6 separate regions of the Homo sapiens genome follow, and all the other regions are linked to region 4. The links are contacts of gene promoters, found by promoter capture Hi-C in blood cells and fetal thymus (Javierre and others, 2016). All regions are on one chromosome and are shown on one strand. The core of a region is centred on a gene start or on the middle of the fragment in contact, and the rest is flanking DNA. Distances in the headings are between cores, read along the strand shown. Region 1 overlaps SSH2 (slingshot protein phosphatase 2). Region 2 overlaps EFCAB5 (EF-hand calcium binding domain 5). Region 3 overlaps EFCAB5 (EF-hand calcium binding domain 5). Region 4 holds the start of CORO6 (coronin 6). Region 5 overlaps EFCAB5 (EF-hand calcium binding domain 5). Region 6 overlaps EFCAB5 (EF-hand calcium binding domain 5).

Region 1 (2,741 bases), core at 178-2,677, 300 kb after region 4:
GGCTGCTGGATTCCCAGCAGTGGTATAAATGAGTAAGTAAATAAATATGTCTCAGACACAAAAAAGGTACTAAATAAGTTTTTCAGAAAATTAAATCAAACAGTTCCATAAAAACTAAGCTGGAACAGAGTATTATCTCTCCCCATCTGTTTCTAAGCACATCCTTTCCCACTCAATAAATGAAGTACTTCCCTCTATCTTTCAGGAAGTCTAGGGAACCATGGGACCTTTCATTACATTTCAGAGCCACGAGTACCTCACCAGACTTTACCTTGAGAGGAAAATGAGGGGCACTGTGATCAGTAGCTTTGCTGCTCAGATGGGCAAGAAAATGCAGGGTAGTTTATAAAGGTATCTGAAGAGAACTCAGTGCTGAGAAACAAAGGAAGGGAATGTATGAGATCACCTGCACAAAATAGCACTCACTAAATACTTCTGATTAACAAGATTCTTAAGGTTTTACTCATGTACATCCAGCCTCTGGCATATTTCAGGTTGGGCAAAGGGGCTCATCAAGAATTACACTTTTTTTTTTTTTAATTGGAAATACTTTCCCTACTACTAGGTTTACTGAATGGAAAAACTACAGCTAGGTGTTTTTTTTTTTTAATGGATTAACAAATAAACATAAAACATGGACATGTGAATAGCTTCAAAAGGCTAGGCACTGCTGCAGACAACACTACAGCAGGCATTTAATGGAAAAACAGTAAATCTTAAGCTGCTGAAACCAGGAGTGATTTATTTATTTATTTATTTTCTGAGACGGAGTTTCCCTCTTGTTGCCCAGGCTGGAGTGCAATGGCGTGATCTCAGCTCACCACAACCTCCGCCTCCCAGGTTCAAACCATTCTGCCTCAGCCTCCCGAGTAGCTGGGATTACAGGCATGCGCCACCACACTCAGCTAATTTTGTATTGTTAGTAGAGACAGGGTTTCTCCATGTTGGTCAGGCTGGTCTCGAACTGCCGACCTTATCTGCCCACCTCAGCCTCCCAAAGTGCTGGGATTACAGGCATGAGCCACCGCGCCCAGCTATCAGGAGTGATATTTAATGGTGAAACCTAGGAAGGCAGTGCTGCACAGTGTCTTTTTCAGCGTGAGCATAATCTAGAAACTGCTCCCTCTCACTTAAAGCCGGATAGGAAAGATGAGAAACCTGAAGATACTTTTTGAGGACCAAAGGCCTTCTCTTTTTCTGGGCTTCCCAGGTACTTGAGTGAAAATTCAAAATGTAAGCTAGTTTAAAGTTTATTTTCTATGCATGCAATTTAATAAATACTAAGTAATATATGCTAAACTAACTAAATTCCTATGAGACTTGCAATGGAACTTCTATGGAACACCTTATACCTGAATTAAGTATTTGGGAATTTAGTACTTCCCAAGGAGGAGTTCCACACCATTGGAAAAAAGGAGTGACTGTTTCATATAATGAACTAAGAAAAGCTGCTATTTGGAATAAAATAAACATAATCCTTACTTCACATCATGTAGTAAAATTAATTTCAGACAATTAAAAGATATAAAAATAATACTATAAATAGCTTTAAAACATATAGGTCTAAATTTTTTCAATAAGTAGAATATTTCTATCCTTATTGACGGAAAAGTGAACTAAGAAAAATAATTTTAAAAACCCACACACAAGACTGGATTGATGGCATTAAAATTTTGTAAATGTCTGTATATACAAATGAATGAAATAAACAAAACAAAATGGCAAATGAAAAACCAGAGGAAAATTTGCAACATAACAGAAAAAGGTTAATATTCTTAGTATATAAAGAATACTTACACATCAATATGAAAAAGTAAATAGCCATGAAGAAAGCTGGGCAAAGAACATGAACGATTTACAAAACAAGGAATATATAATAAAACATATAATAGTAAATATTTGAAAAAATGTTTAGCCTCTAATTTTTAAAAATGTAAATTAAAACAACAATAAAATACTAGTGATTAAGAGAAGGGGTTGTGAGGTCAGACACCAGGCCTATAATCCTGGACAATTCACTTCACTTATCTGAGTCTGTATTTTCTTGGTAAAATCAAGAGAATAACAATGCTTACGCCACAGGAGTGATGTGAAAATTAAGCAACATGAGGCACAAAAGGTACTCAACACAGTGTCTAGTATACAGTAAGTGTTCAATAAATATCCCTATGATGATGATGCTACTTAAGGCTGTGAGACTACACTTAAACATTTTTATACAATGCTTGTAAACAAAGATTGATTCAACCTTTCTGCTGGATAATTTGGCAACATGTATCAAAAGTCTTAAAAGTGATCATATCCTTTGGGCTTCTCAAGATATCTGTCTATGCTTAAAAACAGTAGAAGAACTCAAAATAGAAGATTGCTAAATATGACTATATCTGTTGATCATCCATTGATCCATGTGTCAAATACTTTTTTTTTTTAAGAGGGAGTTTCATTCTTATTGCCCAGGCTGGAGTGCTATGGCGAGGTCTTGGCTCACTGCAACCTCTGCCTCCCGGGTTCAAGCGATTCTCCTGCCTCAGTAGGAGTAGCTGGGATTACAGGCATCCACCACCGCATCTGGCTAATTTTTGTATATTTAGTAGGCTGGTCTCAAACTCCCGACCTCAGGTGATCTGCCTGCCTCAACCTCCCAAAGTGCTGGGATTACAGTAGTGAGCCACCGCGCCCAGCCCCATGCGTCAAATACTTTTGAGCTCTGATAATACAAAAATATGTAAATGACCCAGTCC
Region 2 (2,700 bases), core at 166-2,665, 430 kb after region 4:
ATACCAGATAGATATATTTGGTGGTGATGTACTATTGATGGTGGCATGTGCTATTGATGAATGCTCTTCTGCTTTAAAACTTATGGCATTAGTACCCATTTTTTAACCATGATATGGCCCTACCACTGCTTTAAAGCTATGATCTAAGCATACAGAGAAAATCAGACATTAGATACTAAAACTCAATAGAAATCATTTCAGCTATTCCTTTACCTGGTAGGGCCACATCTAAACATATGAGACAAGTGAGAATCTATCTTGTTTTTGAAGACTTGCAAAGAAAGATCTACTCAACAGAGCAGAGTAGTTTCTGGCTTTCAGACAAAGCATGTCTTTAAAATGATTGTTCCAAAAGCACTCATATTTCACTAAAATGCTACTATATTGTTTTGCCTTTCACATCAACAAGTTGTAGAACTAAATTAGATCAAGATTATCTTCTTCCTACCTGCAAATTTTTCTCTCATTTAAGCCTCAAATAACAAACTTTCTATCCTCAAATTTTCTGGTGAAAATGCATGGCATTGGTCAACCTCTTGCAGCCTGCTAGTTCATGTTCTTCTTCTTAGTCATCTTTATATCAATTTTGCTTTACCAATATATGTAAAAATTGTGAGTAATCATTTTTTTTAATCACATCAAATCTCATATAGAAGGTATAAGGGCATGAATGATTGAATCAATGAATAAATCAAACGGAAGTCACTTTGCTGACATTTTATGAAATATACTTCATACTGTACTATTGAGCTAAAAGGTAAATATATTAGCCAAGGCTTTTGGAAGAAGGAGTTGTGGTGGTGGTATTTAGTAATTTGTTTAACTAGAAAGTTCAGCGTGCAGCTGTTTTCAGGCACAACTAGATTCAAAGGCTCAACAATAGCAGCAGGATACTGTCTGTCTTCCTCTAAGCCCTGTTTTTCTGTGTCACTTTCAATTGAGACAGTTTTCTCCATGTTGTGACAAAAATGGCCATGAAAGCATCTCTAAGCTTATACTCTACTAGTTCAGCAATCAGAGTACAAAAAGAGTGATTCGTCCCTAATAGTTCTTCCAAAAGTTCTGAGGCTAACTCTCATTGGCCTATAGTAGGTTACATTGCTATCATATATGAATTGTTAGCCAGATGTATATCACATGACCATCCATGGCACAAAAGTGGGAGGCACAGTATGACCTGACTCATCTGAACTGACAATGGAGAGATGTTTTTCCAAAGAAAAAAGGAGGATGCTGTCCTCATGAAGGAAGCATGGATTCCTGACAGTCAAAAATGGCAGATATTCATTACAATAGGCACTCATTTATTTTCCCTAACTGAAAAAATTGTTCACTTTACTGCTTGGTAATGTTTCTTGCTTGACAGATTTACACTCAATTATCAGAAATATTCAGTCTTGCAAGGAGGTAAAAGGCAGAACTGCCTTCAATGGAGTTTCATTCAATCTGCTCCAGTTTGTGCAACTCCTGGAGACATTTGTTGGTGAAGACGCTCCCTTGAGTGTCAGCGAGACTCTCACCTCCTTTTTTAAGGAGGGCTATGTTGAAACAGAACAAGAGAAAATGAATGCCTTAGAACAGGTGGGTAATATTATTTATTAATGATACAAGTGAGGTCACTATTATAAGTAAATCTCTCAACCTCAGTTGCTCCCGATGTGGCTCGTGTTAAAAAATGTACAACCAAACTGATCACTTTCTTTCAACAAGCATAGCCATTAAAGATTCTATTTTATCATCAAATATTCTAAGATCACACTCCAGAGAACTCATTCCCCTAATAATAACATGATTGCTCCTAGCAGGAGATGGTTTATTGTACAGCTTTATTCTTTCTCTGAAGCTTTTTGAGAAGCAGATATGGATATATGCAAAGATGTGTATGTGCATTATTTGCCTGTGTGTGAGTGTCTTTACAAGTACACACACCTGGGGTATGATTATGGCCTGAGTATATATTTTTACTCATGAGCACCCAGGTAGTACATATTTCCTAAGAACTTACTACTTACTTGGGTGACAGGTAAGTGCATACACATTAGCTTATATAAACAATTTATTCTCTCATATGAAATATGTAAATTACTTTCACTAAGCTTATTCAGTAATCATCAGCCTTATGAGTCTTTTCAACCTAATTCTAGACAATTCCCTTTACCTTCTCAATTCCAGTTCTTCCTACTAAATCAAAAGGTGTATATTCATTTTATTTTTGCAATTATATCTATCTAGATATTAATTCAATTACTATCTCACTAATATAATTAACCTAGTGAAAACTCTAAAAGATAAATAAAATTAATGTCAAATATAGTCAATCTTAAATATAAAAAAAGAATTTTTAAAACACAGCCATTTTTCATTATTTAAACACTGCCATTCATTCCCCTTCACTCAAAACATATCCCTTAGGGCCAGCTGCAGTGGCTTATGCTTGTAATTCCAGTGCTTTGGGAGGCTGAGGAGGGAAAATCTCTTGGGCTCAGGAATTTGAAGTTACAGTGAACTGTAATTATGCCACTCTATTCCATCCTGGGTGACATAGCAAGACTCTGTCTCTAAATAAAAATAATAATAATTTTAAAATACAGTCTGTGTATTTATCACATTCCTGAACAACTAGAGAAGGAGTGGAAAAGAATGGTCAAAGATTCTTAAGGTTTGTAGAATAAATTTGAAAAAAAAAAAAAAGGATTCTTA
Region 3 (2,763 bases), core at 68-2,567, 380 kb after region 4:
ATTTTAAAAGAAAGATATGATGTCATAACTGTGATGTAAACGAGAAATAAAAGTAAAGGCATAAGAAAACTATATGCACTGGCTAGGCATGGTGGCTCACGCTAATATTTACCAGAGTTGAACACTGCCTCCGTAAATTCCTTAGTTTGAATTTCCTTGACTCTACCCAGTCTTATATCCTACACCTTCACTATAACCCTCCTGGGGTCATTCTCTGTTTCTCAAATGTTGTTTCTTGAGTTCCCTTTTCATGTTACATAAATTTCCCTGGATAATCTCATCCAGTTCTGTTACTATATATACTAGGATTAAGACTTCTTCAGAGGCCGGGCACAGTGGCTCACGCCTGTAATCCCAGCACTTTGGGAGCCCGAGATGGGCGGATCATTTGAGGTCAGGAGTTTGAGACCAGCCTGGCCAACATAGTGAAAGACTGTCTCTACTAAAATACAAAAATTAGCCGGGCATGGTGGCGGGCGTCCGTAATCTCAGTTACTTGGGAGGCTGAGGCAGGAGAATCACTTGAACCCAGGAGGCGGAGGTTGCAGTGAGCCGAGGTGACGCCACTGCACTCCAGCCTGGGTGACAGAGTGAGACTCCTTCTAAAAAAAAAAAAAAAGAAAGAAAGAAAATTATATGCACTGTATTTCAATATATAAATGCTTTGTTACGACTTCGCTAGAAGACGTAATAGAGTAGTCAGACATTTCTACCTACTTATAATGTACCTTTAGATATAAGAGAAGTAAAATTATATACAGTTGACCATTTTATTTGTTTTTGACATTTTGGAATAGGGCAAAATGAATATATATATATATATAGAATTCCCAGAAATGCAGACTGACACAGGTGTGTTGTATTAGAATTCAGATACAATTTATATTACTCCCTATTACATAAGTCCTGAAATGGTGAACAACTCTTGGTAAAGTTCCAGAATTAAACAAAGTATAATTCTCCCTCAAATTTTCATATAAGTTATATTCTTGGAAAATTCCACAGCAAAATTATATTCTGCATTTATATGTAAAATAGAGTTGGGTTCTAAGTTCAAAATTATTATAATCAGGTTTTTCATCTACTTGAATGTCCTGCAGAAGGGGGAAAGTCTATGTGCAAGAATTCCATGTGTTCTGCCTCTGCTCCTATTCCTCATCACTGTGGCAATAAAAATTCACCCAAAAATTTCCACCATGCTCCCTGGGAGGAAAGGAGGACAGCACCACCCCTATGGAGAGTCACAGATTTTGGTGCTTTTGTTTTCAGAAAGATTTCCCTATATGAAATTAGGTGGAAAAAAAAAAAAAACCTCACTTGTCCCATAGGAACTAGAGTTTGGGTCCTGAGATTTACATAATTAATATCCAGTAGATTTTTTTCCAATTGATTATTTGACTACTTTTGTTACATTGACAACAATACATTGTCTGAAGTCTGTTGTCACTTTTAAAAATAAAATATGCTTCCCGTCTTCCTGATCACTGATCTCCAAGCATGATTTGGGCCTTACTGATAACCTTTTGTCCTTCTACCTGTTCTCACATTTTCCAAAAACCGTAATTCTTCAGTCAGCTCATCTTTTACTCTTGTTTCAAAAAATCATTGAAATAGCTTCCTTTATTTTTGAATGAGGGTACAGAAGGAGTGAGTTAAGAGAACTCAATTTGGGATCCTGATAAAATTACAGAAATTCCAGAGCATTCCAACTGACAGTGATTGTTTCTCCTCTCACCTCCTATACTACAGTATTTATTTCTGTACTATTCATTCGGTCAATATTCATTGAGCCCTCACTTAGTTCCAGATACTGTAATGAGTAAGAGAATGCAAAGAGGACTGACAAGACATGTTTCCTACCCTTAAGTTGCTCAAACTCCAGTCAGAGACAGACAGACAGGTATACTTAATAGCAACTGTTACTGCTAGAAACGTCTGGTTTGCATAATCATCTGGAGCTTGGGGGAAGGTCTGGGATGGAAATGTCTGCATCTAATGCATAAGTTTATATGAAAATTTATATAGCCTTCCTATGGCCACAATAACAGATATCTCATAATTAGCACTTACCAAATTCAAGAGTGATTGAAAAATCTTTTCTATGCCCTTGTGCCAACCCATGACAGGCAGGAAGAGTTACTATTAGAAGTAGGAGAGGAAGCCAGTGTATAGTTCTTTCATCATGAGCTTTCATACAATTTATGTATTTTTCTCTTGTAAGGTCAATAAGGATTACATAAATTGTCATATCAAATGAAGGTTTAAAAATCTGTATTTGAACTAACGGTCACATTCATCATTACTGATCACTCTAATTTATGAAACTCTTTTTTCTTGGTTTTTGTGATATCATTCTCTTGATTTTTTTCTTCTATTTTTGGTCACCTTTTAGTGTTTTTGTTTCTTGACTCTTCTTTTGCTTGCACCTTAAATTTTGTTTTCCAGAGTTTCCTTTTAGGCTTTCTTGTCACTATACACACTATACACATTCTGTGGGTTTTCTTATTCAAGTCCATGACTGCAGCTGATGACTCCCAATCTATATACACATTACGAACTTTCCCTGAGCCCCAGGTCCTATTTGAAAAAAAGCTACTATGAGTGGTAAATGAAAAAGCAAGTTGCACATCAAAATGATCATATTTATAAGTAGAAAAAAGGTACATGTGTATATATATATACATTTGTATACATACAGAAATGCATAGAAAGGTTGCTGGAAGGATGATAAACTGTTGACAGTGGTTACATCTGGGGCAGAAA
Region 4 (2,824 bases), core at 16-2,515:
TAAGTGGCTAGGATTTGGGGCCTGAATTCTCCACAGAGACCCAGGCTGAGGGGATTGTGGAGCCTAACAGACTGAAAGCTTTCTGGACGTTGGAATGTTTTTGGGAGGAGCCTCAATGCCACACTGCCTGCACCCCCCGCCCCCACCACCGCCAGCCTTGATGAGCATCTCTTCACGGACGTGGTTGTAGCTCCCAGAGGCACCCTGTCCAGAAGCAGAAGACTTGACCATTGGATCTTGGCTTAAAGCCAGGTATGGGGCCAAGACTGCAGCCACCACAGGATACCGAACTCGCATCTCTGGAATAGTTCAGGCAGATGGGGTTTTGCCTTTTCCTAAAATTTTGCCAAGGGGGAAGTTCCTCCTGTCCACCAATCTGAGTCCTTTCTGCTACTGTTTTCATCCCATGCCTTGTGGGGGGACGGGTGGCAGCACAGAGTGAGGTGGATCCCTCTTCTCCCACTCCTTTCTGCACTGGCTTCTCCAGGAAGCCCTGATCATGGTCTTCTGGCTTTTGCCTACCATAGGCTTGTCCGGTTTCTCCTCTGGGTCCTCTGCCCTGGTTGGGCCTTCTTCCTAGTGAACTCTTCTAGGGGTGGGGTCTTCAACCCCATCCTCCACCCCTGCCCCCGCCACGGCCAAGCCAGATTTGCAGGGGTGGGGAGGGTGAGGTGCCTTTTCTCCAGCTAGGGTCTCCCTAGAGGACACACTGAGCACTCCCAAAGCCCCAGCCAGTGGCTCCTGCCCCACCCCAGCCCCAGCATCCGTGTGCCCTTCAAGGCGCGTCTGCGGCCCCGAGCCTGAGGCCCGGCCTCCCTGCACCCTTCTTCAGCCTGCTGCCCTGACACTGCGTTCTTGCGAGACGAGGTGTCTGCGCCCTCCGGGAGCGCTGGCTGCTGTCCGGCCAAATATAGACACCACGTCCTCCCCGCCCGAAACCGAATTTGGCGGCGCGGGGGGAGGAGGCGCAGACCTCTGCCCCTCAGGGACCCCGCCCGCTCCGCTGGCTGCGGTGACGGCCGGGTGTGGGGGGCTGGGTACCTGGTCCTGAGCGGGCTGCGGGGCGCTCACGCTGCGAATCCTCTGCGGAAGGGGCCCGAGTGCGTAGGGGGCCGAGGAAGGCTTCAGGGCGAAGGAGCCACCTCTCCGGGTGTCTGTAGTATCTGGGACCCGGGTGTCCAGCTCCGCACTCTGGCCGATCCTGCGGCTCTCTAGAGCCCGGCGCCGCTGCAGCCCCAGCTGCCGCTGCCATCAACCTAAGAGGGCGGGGCTAGCATAGGGGCGGGGCCAGAGCCCAAGTTGCCCCGCCCCCTCCAGCGGCGGGAAAGTCGAGCGACCCCGACTCCCCTCCCAGCTTCCGCCGGCCTCGGAGAACCATCGAAAATAAATGTGCAGCTGTGTGCTAGGTGCGCACGCTGCTTCCCTCCCTCCATGACTCCCGGGTAGGCTGGGGAGGCTCGGGTTCGCAGACCTAGAGCAGGACGCTTGGAGAGGGAACGGGCGAGGGGGCGTGCGCCCCTAGAGCGGGCAGCCGAGGGAGACCAGGTGCCTCCACCCGCATTCCAGCCTCAATCGCGCTCCCAATTTAGCTGTCCCGATCGGCCGGGACTGCGGGACTGCACTTCCAGGCCTCCCTGGGGGAAAGAGGCCCTAGAGAATGAGGACCCAGGCTGATCCTGATGTAGGGCAAGTGAGAGGGCACCCGACACAGGGTTGTGAATGTTAGTTATTGTTATGAATGGCAATAGCGATCATTTGAGAAACCTAAAATGCTGGCTGTGTGCTAGGCATTTCACCCCATTAGATGAGATTCCATGGAGCAGGGCAGGAAGCAGCTGAAAGAACAAGGGGAGGACCGAGTGTAAAGTGAACCCACCTTGACACTCCCTCCCCTCCCAGATGCAGGGGGAAGAGGCTAGCACCGGTCTCTAGTCACATTTTAGGGGTCAGAGAAGCCAACTCAGAGGCCAGACTCCTAATGTTTTCTGGGCCTTGTTTGAATTGGCGCCCGACTGTGTTCCAGGTAAGCTTCCCCCGTCTCCCCCAATATTCACAGAACTGAATGTTGACCGAGGTCAAGGAGATTAAAGATAACCTGATCAAAATACAGCCAGTGAAGACCAGCCAGTCCCGTAGCTCCAGTCTACCCAGTGTCTGCACATTGCCTGGATTTCTTCCCTTGGATCATAAGGGCATCTGGGGCCAGTTATTACTTCCCACCCTCCAGGGCACACCTGGGAGTGAGTGAATGGAACACAGCCTTCTGAAGGGCAGGAACCAGCACTGGGGAGGAAAGGGAGGGAAGGTGGTAGAAACCATGAAGGGCCCACGAGGCTCCTTTGTTTCTCAGGAAGAGTCCAGGTGGCTTGTAGGGACAGAATCAAATCAAGAGTCAGTGGCTTGTAGGGGAACAGAATAAAAAACTGTTACGAGTGCTCCAGAAATAACTCCTGGCGTAGGGGTGCTGGGGCAGGGTATGAGGGTATGTGAGTCATCTCTCTTTTACCTAAAGATTCCAGGCACATGATTAGGAGGAAAATACCTGAGTGACTCAGTTGCTCCTTTACAACAATAACCCATGCTTATGTGCTAGGCACTGGCACTAAGGGCTTTATACGTATTAATTTCATACTCTTAACAATCCTCTAGGCTGGTCGCGGGTGGCTAACGCCTGTAATCCCAGCACTTTGGGAGGCTGAGGCAGGTGGATCACCTGAGGTCAGGAGTTCGAGACCAGCCTGGCCAACATGGCAAAACCCCATCTCTACTAAAAATACAAAAATTTGCCAGGTGTGGTGATGCACACCTGTAATCCCAGCTACTC
Region 5 (2,700 bases), core at 24-2,523, 320 kb after region 4:
TCATGAGGTAGAGTTGGCATGAATAAATCAGATATTAATGCTGGAGAATAAGCTAGATAAATCAATTTTCTTATGATAAAAGAAAAGATGTGGGTATTCAAAAAGATAACTAAAATTGCAAAAGGAAAAGGACAAACTCATGTTGATTATTAAGCTGATTCATTTGAGTAAGTTGCAGGAAACTTCCATGGACAGGTAAATTATTTGTGAAGAACTGTTATAAATTACAGATAAATAAAGACTGCTTTCTAAAGTTACCCTAAAAACTGTAACCACCAGCTTTTAGGGTCACTTTACTATCATGCTGAAAATGTAATTTCCAGGTTAATCATTTAAGTAACTTTGTGTTTAAATAAATACAAGGCTACAATAAAGAAGAACGTTTCATAGAAAAGGGGAGGCAATTAAAAATAGTCCTATAGATTCACAAGTGAGTTGACTAATATGAGTTTTTAAAATATCCTATTGATTGTCGATGGCTCACACTTGTAATCCCAGCACTCTGGGAGACCGAGGTGGATCACTTGAGGTCAGGAGTTCAAGACCGGACTGGCCAACATAGCGAAACTCCATCTCTACTAATAATACAAAAATTATCTGGGCTTGGTGGTGCATGCGTGTAATCCTAGCAACTTGAAAGGCCAAGGCAAGATAATCACTTTAACCCAGGAGGCGGAGGTTGCAGTGAGCCGAGATCATGCCACTGCACTCCAGCCTGGGCAACAGAGTGAAACTGCATCTCCAAAATATATATATATATATATATATAGTCAGATTTTTAAAGTACATTAGCATGTATACAAAAACTATTTTGTTGCTATTCATAAAATTAATCTTTAATTTCCTCAATTAAGATTAAATGCTTTTTCTTTTTGCCACAAATACAGAAAGTGATTCTAGTAGTAAAACAGTAGCATTTCCAAAGGTCTGATTTCCTTATGCTATGGTCTCAAATCATGTTTCTATAAACTATTGTATAATTCAAGAATTAATGTACATCTAAAATGATATTCCTAGCATATTACTTTGTTAGTAACAGGAAGATGTGATGACATTTTGAACCAACACATTTTATCTTGTAAATGCAGAAAATACACTGTGATTACCTCTTTGCTTCTAATATACAGCATTAGATCCCAGAAAAATTAACTAGGAATGTTTGGTTAACTCTTACAAAGCAATTAACTTTCCTTTAATTGGAATAATTTATACAACTTTGTTGAAAATCAAGTCACATTGAAATTGGTGATTTTTTTCCTCTTTTCAAAGACCTTACAGAGTGTGCCAGACGTTCCTGTAAAAGAGGACACCAACAGTGTGGTGGAGAAAGCAATGGATGAAATCAAATCCCAAGGTAGAGAACTAGCCTTTCTCTTATACAATAGAATCTAAAACTGGCTGGGCGTGGTGGCTCATGCCTGTAATTCCAGCACTTTGGGAGGCCGAGGCGGGTGGATCATCAGAGGTCAGGAGTTCGAAACCAGCCTGGCCAACATGGTGAAACACCATCTCTTCTAAAAATACAAAAAATTAGCTGGGCATAGTGGCGGGTGCCTGTAATCCCAGCTACTCTGGAGGCTGAGGCAGGAGAATTGCGTGAACAGGGAGGTGGGGGTTGCAGTGAGCCAAGCTCGTGGATTGCACTCCAGCCTGGGTGACAGAGCGAAACTCCATCTCAAAAAAATAAATAAATAAAAGAATCTAAAACTATCATTAACATTTTACTGGGGATGCGTTCTTCAAGATTTTGCATTTTAAAGATATAATTTCAGGGGATATTTTATTTTATTTTTATTTTTAGAGATGGATCTTGCCCTGTACCTAGACTGAAGTTCAGTGACACGGTCATAGTTCACTGCAGATTCAAAGTCCTGGGTTCAAGTGATCCTCCTATCTCAGCCTCCAGAGTTGCTGGGACTATGGGCACACATTACCTCACCTAGCTAGTTTTTTATTTTTTATTTTTGTAGAGAGAATTTCTTGCTATGTTTCCTGGGCTGGTCTCGATCTCCTGGACTCAGGCGATCCTCCTGTCTCAGCCTCCAGAGTCACTGAGATTATAGGCCAGAGGGTATTTTAAATGCAGTTTGGGAAACAATTTAAAATGTATTTCATTCACCTTCTATTAATGCTTTTGAGGCAATTTATGATTATTCATCTTGCACTTAAAGAGAAAATTTATCTAAGAAAGCTGACTGACATCTAGCAGGCAACCCACTAATACAATAATAAAATGAAGAACTCCAGTGATTTGGGCTGCTTATTGTCCTTGGCCCTGTTTATTGTTTTTGGGTTTTGTTGTTGTTTTTTTGTTGTTTTCTGTTTTGTTTTGTTTTTTTTTTTTTGAGACGAAGTTTTGCGCTTGTTGCCCAGGGCAGAGTGCAATGGTGCAATCTCGGCTCACTGCAACCTCAGCCTCCCGGGTTCAAGCGATTCTCCAGCCTCAGCCTCCCGAGTAGCTGGGATTACAAGCACGTGCCATCACACCCGGCTAAGTTTGTATTTTTAATAGAGATGGGGTTTCCCAATGTTGGCCAGGCTGGTCTCAAACTCCCAACCTCAGGTGATCTGCCTGCCTTGGCCTACCAAAGTGTTGGGATTACAAGTATGAGCCACTGTGCCCGGCCAACACTGTTTACTGTTTTTACTCCTGTACTTGACCACATATTTATTCCGTTTGATCCAAAGCTTGACTCCTAG
Region 6 (2,700 bases), core at 134-2,633, 350 kb after region 4:
ACTCTGGTTCCCCAGTCAGGAGTGCAATGGCACAATCTCAGCTCACTGCAACCTCCGCCTCCCGGCAGCGATTCTCCTGCCTCAGCCTCCCGAGTAGCTGGGATTACAGGTGCGTACCACCATGCCCAGCTAATTTTTTGTATTTTAAGTAGAGATGGGGTTTCACCATGTTGGCCAGGCTGGTCTCGAACTCCTGACCTCAGGTGATCTACCCACCTCGGCCTCCCAAAGTGCTGGAATTACAGGCGTGAGCCACCACACCTGGCCCACCTACACTCAAATTTATAATTTCTTTTGACTTGTTTTAGTGTCTTTCCTATAGGGTAAACAACTAATTAGAAGCTTTAGAATAGTAATTCTTTTGGAATTAGGCACAGATATCCCTCTGGGATAAAGTAAGAGATATGTGCAGAACTCTTGTTTTATGTGTGGTTATGAAATTTTTATTTTCAGTTGAAACAGGCTTTCTAAGATCATGGTTGTCTATCAGTGACACCAGAATCACCTGGGGTGCTTGGTTAAAAGTGCAGATTCCTAGATCCTTCCTCAGATCTTCTGAATCAGAACCTCTAGGAATGCATTTAAAACAAGTTCCATAAGAGGTTATTATTGCACACTAAAGTTTCAAGACCAAATTAAAAAGAAAACAAATTAAGAGAGGTTTAGTACTAGTGAAAACTTCCAGTAGTATGCAGGAAGCAGTTTCATTAAATTTAATAAATACCTTAAGGAACATTTCTGCTCACCATCTGTTCTTGCAGTGCAATAAATTAGACTGTATTTAGATCTATTTCCACTAAAAATACTTACAATCTGTGAACTGATTTTGTCTGTAAACAAATATATTGACAAACACTTCCTCTTGTTACAGATATGTAAATCTCAATGGGTATGTAAAACTCTAGACATTTATTAATGTCTATAATAAGATAGTAATAAGCACACTAGGACATTGGGTTCCATGACACAGGAGAATTAGGTTGTTTCACTGATATTTCTTGAACTGGGAGTTTGACTTCTTAGGGTCATTTGAGGCTTGGTAAAAGTTTTAGTTAAAGGTTGCTCTATTGGAGCAGGAATTTCATGAAATAATCAAAGTTGCTTTGTTTACCTGGATTGTTAGAATTGGGGCTTCATCTTTTTCTGGCAGAAATCCAAGATCTGTATGTCAACAGATGACAGTGTCAGGCATTTGTAGAATATTCAGAAATCCTAAGGATGTTTTACAACAGTGTGTTCTGCTCCTAATCCCTATCGACTTAAAGCTTATATACCCAGCAATATTAGTAAAAACAGTCCTGCTTTGAAATTCTCAGAACTATACCATTGTTTGTGTTACCTTCAATCCATTGCAAAGCCTTAGAAAAGTCCATTCACTTTAGGAATGAAATTTTCCTGAATTATAGCCAAGAAAAAAAGTCAAAAGAAAATGTATTTGTTTTAATGAGACTCTATCTTCTTGTGGTAATGTTTAAGTGTTCATTTGCTTCAGCTTGATCCAAAAAGCTTTTGTCTGCCTACTTTCTACGACAAAAGGGATTCATCTCTGTTAGGTCTCTAAAAACAACAGATAGAGAAGACACTGCTTACTTATTTGGAACAATTTTTATAGTGGTAGCCACTATATCTGAAAAATACAGTATCACTGCTGTTTGTAGGTTTTATATGTGCAATGTAATTTACTACTTTTCATTGGGGCTCTTGAAAGACATAGATATAGAATTAAAGTGGACTTTAATTCTTACGTGCAATTTTGGACAACTGTAAAGTAGGTTAAGTTTGTATCATTCACTTTTCTTCATATTTTCTTTTCTTTTAGTATGCTTTGTAAAAAGTATCTTTTCCCTCTGACTCTTGATTTCTCCAGTGTTTGGGATTGCATATTTGAAGGTCATTACCACCTTATTATGAATTGATAATGAAAAATATTTGCTCCTAAAATAGGATTACAAACTTTCAATAGCCTAATTATGATGGTGGTTACACATACTCATATATGTTAAAATTCATAAAACTATGTGCCAAAGAAGGTAAATTTTACTGTATGATATTTTTTAAAATATAAAACTTTTAAGCAGTAAAAAAAGAAAACTGTTAATGTTAGAATTTCAGACTATTCTACTTTACTACAAATTTCCTCTCTTTTCTCAACTAGTCTTGAACCATAATAACCTAGAATGAGTTCAAATGAACCGGAAAGTAGATCTAAGAGACCCCAAACAGAAGCTTGTATCTTTTCCTGTATAATGCATACCCAGTTCTGCCTTGGTAGTGATCTCTGATAATTGCATATTCACTATGGGGTCTGTGTTGCAGTTTGAGATATCTTTTGGGCATTTTTCCTGTGACTCCTCTTTATTAGCTTTATGCATTAATGATGGAACATTTAATCCATAAAGAGAGAGAAACACAAAGAGGTATTTCAAAGAATTACTTTCTCTACCACAGCTACATACAAGAGAAGACCAAGTTAGTATAAATATTCAAGCCTTAAGGATACACAAACCAAGTAAAATTTCAAGAAGCGAGGGACACAGGCCTTTATTTTATTAATTTCTTGCATATTAAGTCGTGTAGTGTTCAAAGAATTTATGTAAACTATGTGACAAAAATCTATTGTGTGTGTTTCTATTGGAATGTGTTATTTGCAGAGTTCTGAAATCTGCTTCAAAGTACTTTTTGTATTTTTTTTAAAAAAAG

Evidence for each region. Contacts are between HindIII fragments. The CHiCAGO score rates a contact against its expected background, and 5 or more counts as called.
Region 1: a contact is called between a fragment that was not itself captured here and the fragment with the promoter of CORO6 in region 4, in 1 of 17 cell types (fetal thymus). The highest score is 5.2, in fetal thymus.
Region 2: a fragment that was not itself captured here is called in contact with the fragment with the promoter of CORO6 in region 4 in 1 of 17 cell types (total B cells); the score reaches 6.0 in total B cells.
Region 3: a fragment that was not itself captured here is called in contact with the fragment with the promoter of CORO6 in region 4 in 5 of 17 cell types (M2 macrophages, M1 macrophages, naive B cells and 2 more); the score reaches 6.8 in M2 macrophages.
Region 5: a contact is called between a fragment that was not itself captured here and the fragment with the promoter of CORO6 in region 4, in 1 of 17 cell types (endothelial precursors). The highest score is 5.3, in endothelial precursors.
Region 6: a contact is called between a fragment that was not itself captured here and the fragment with the promoter of CORO6 in region 4, in 1 of 17 cell types (M1 macrophages). The highest score is 5.8, in M1 macrophages.

Annotation. Positions count from the first base shown.
Region 1 is chr17:29,919,165-29,921,905 of GRCh38, forward strand. All of the region lies in intron 1 of SSH2 (slingshot protein phosphatase 2), which reads right to left. Among named protein-coding and RNA genes, the nearest start is that of SSH2, 9.7 kb to the right of the region's middle. The HindIII fragment of the contact is 2,904 bases long and covers 1-2,741 here.
Region 2 is chr17:30,056,310-30,059,009 of GRCh38, forward strand. EFCAB5 (EF-hand calcium binding domain 5) reads left to right here. Exons shown (of 23, transcript NM_198529.4): 13 at 1,367-1,581. Among named protein-coding and RNA genes, the nearest start is that of NSRP1, 59 kb to the right of the region's middle. The HindIII fragment of the contact is 852 bases long and covers 990-1,841 here.
Region 3 is chr17:29,996,640-29,999,402 of GRCh38, forward strand. The region is part of intron 6 of EFCAB5 (EF-hand calcium binding domain 5); the gene reads left to right. Among named protein-coding and RNA genes, the nearest start is that of EFCAB5, 56 kb to the left of the region's middle. The HindIII fragment of the contact is 3,204 bases long and covers 1-2,763 here.
Region 4 is chr17:29,621,647-29,624,470 of GRCh38, forward strand. CORO6 (coronin 6) reads right to left here and starts at 1,266. Exons shown (of 11, transcript NM_032854.4): 1 at 1,042-1,266. RefSeq lists a silencer at 930-1,079 and an enhancer at 1,867-2,824. The HindIII fragment of the contact is 1,950 bases long and covers 77-2,026 here.
Region 5 is chr17:29,942,296-29,944,995 of GRCh38, forward strand. EFCAB5 (EF-hand calcium binding domain 5) reads left to right here. Exons shown (of 23, transcript NM_198529.4): 2 at 1-7; 3 at 1,270-1,354. Among named protein-coding and RNA genes, the nearest start is that of EFCAB5, 2.0 kb to the left of the region's middle. The HindIII fragment of the contact is 2,825 bases long and covers 1-2,686 here.
Region 6 is chr17:29,975,290-29,977,989 of GRCh38, forward strand. All of the region lies in intron 4 of EFCAB5 (EF-hand calcium binding domain 5), which reads left to right. Among named protein-coding and RNA genes, the nearest start is that of EFCAB5, 35 kb to the left of the region's middle. The HindIII fragment of the contact is 241 bases long and covers 1,264-1,504 here.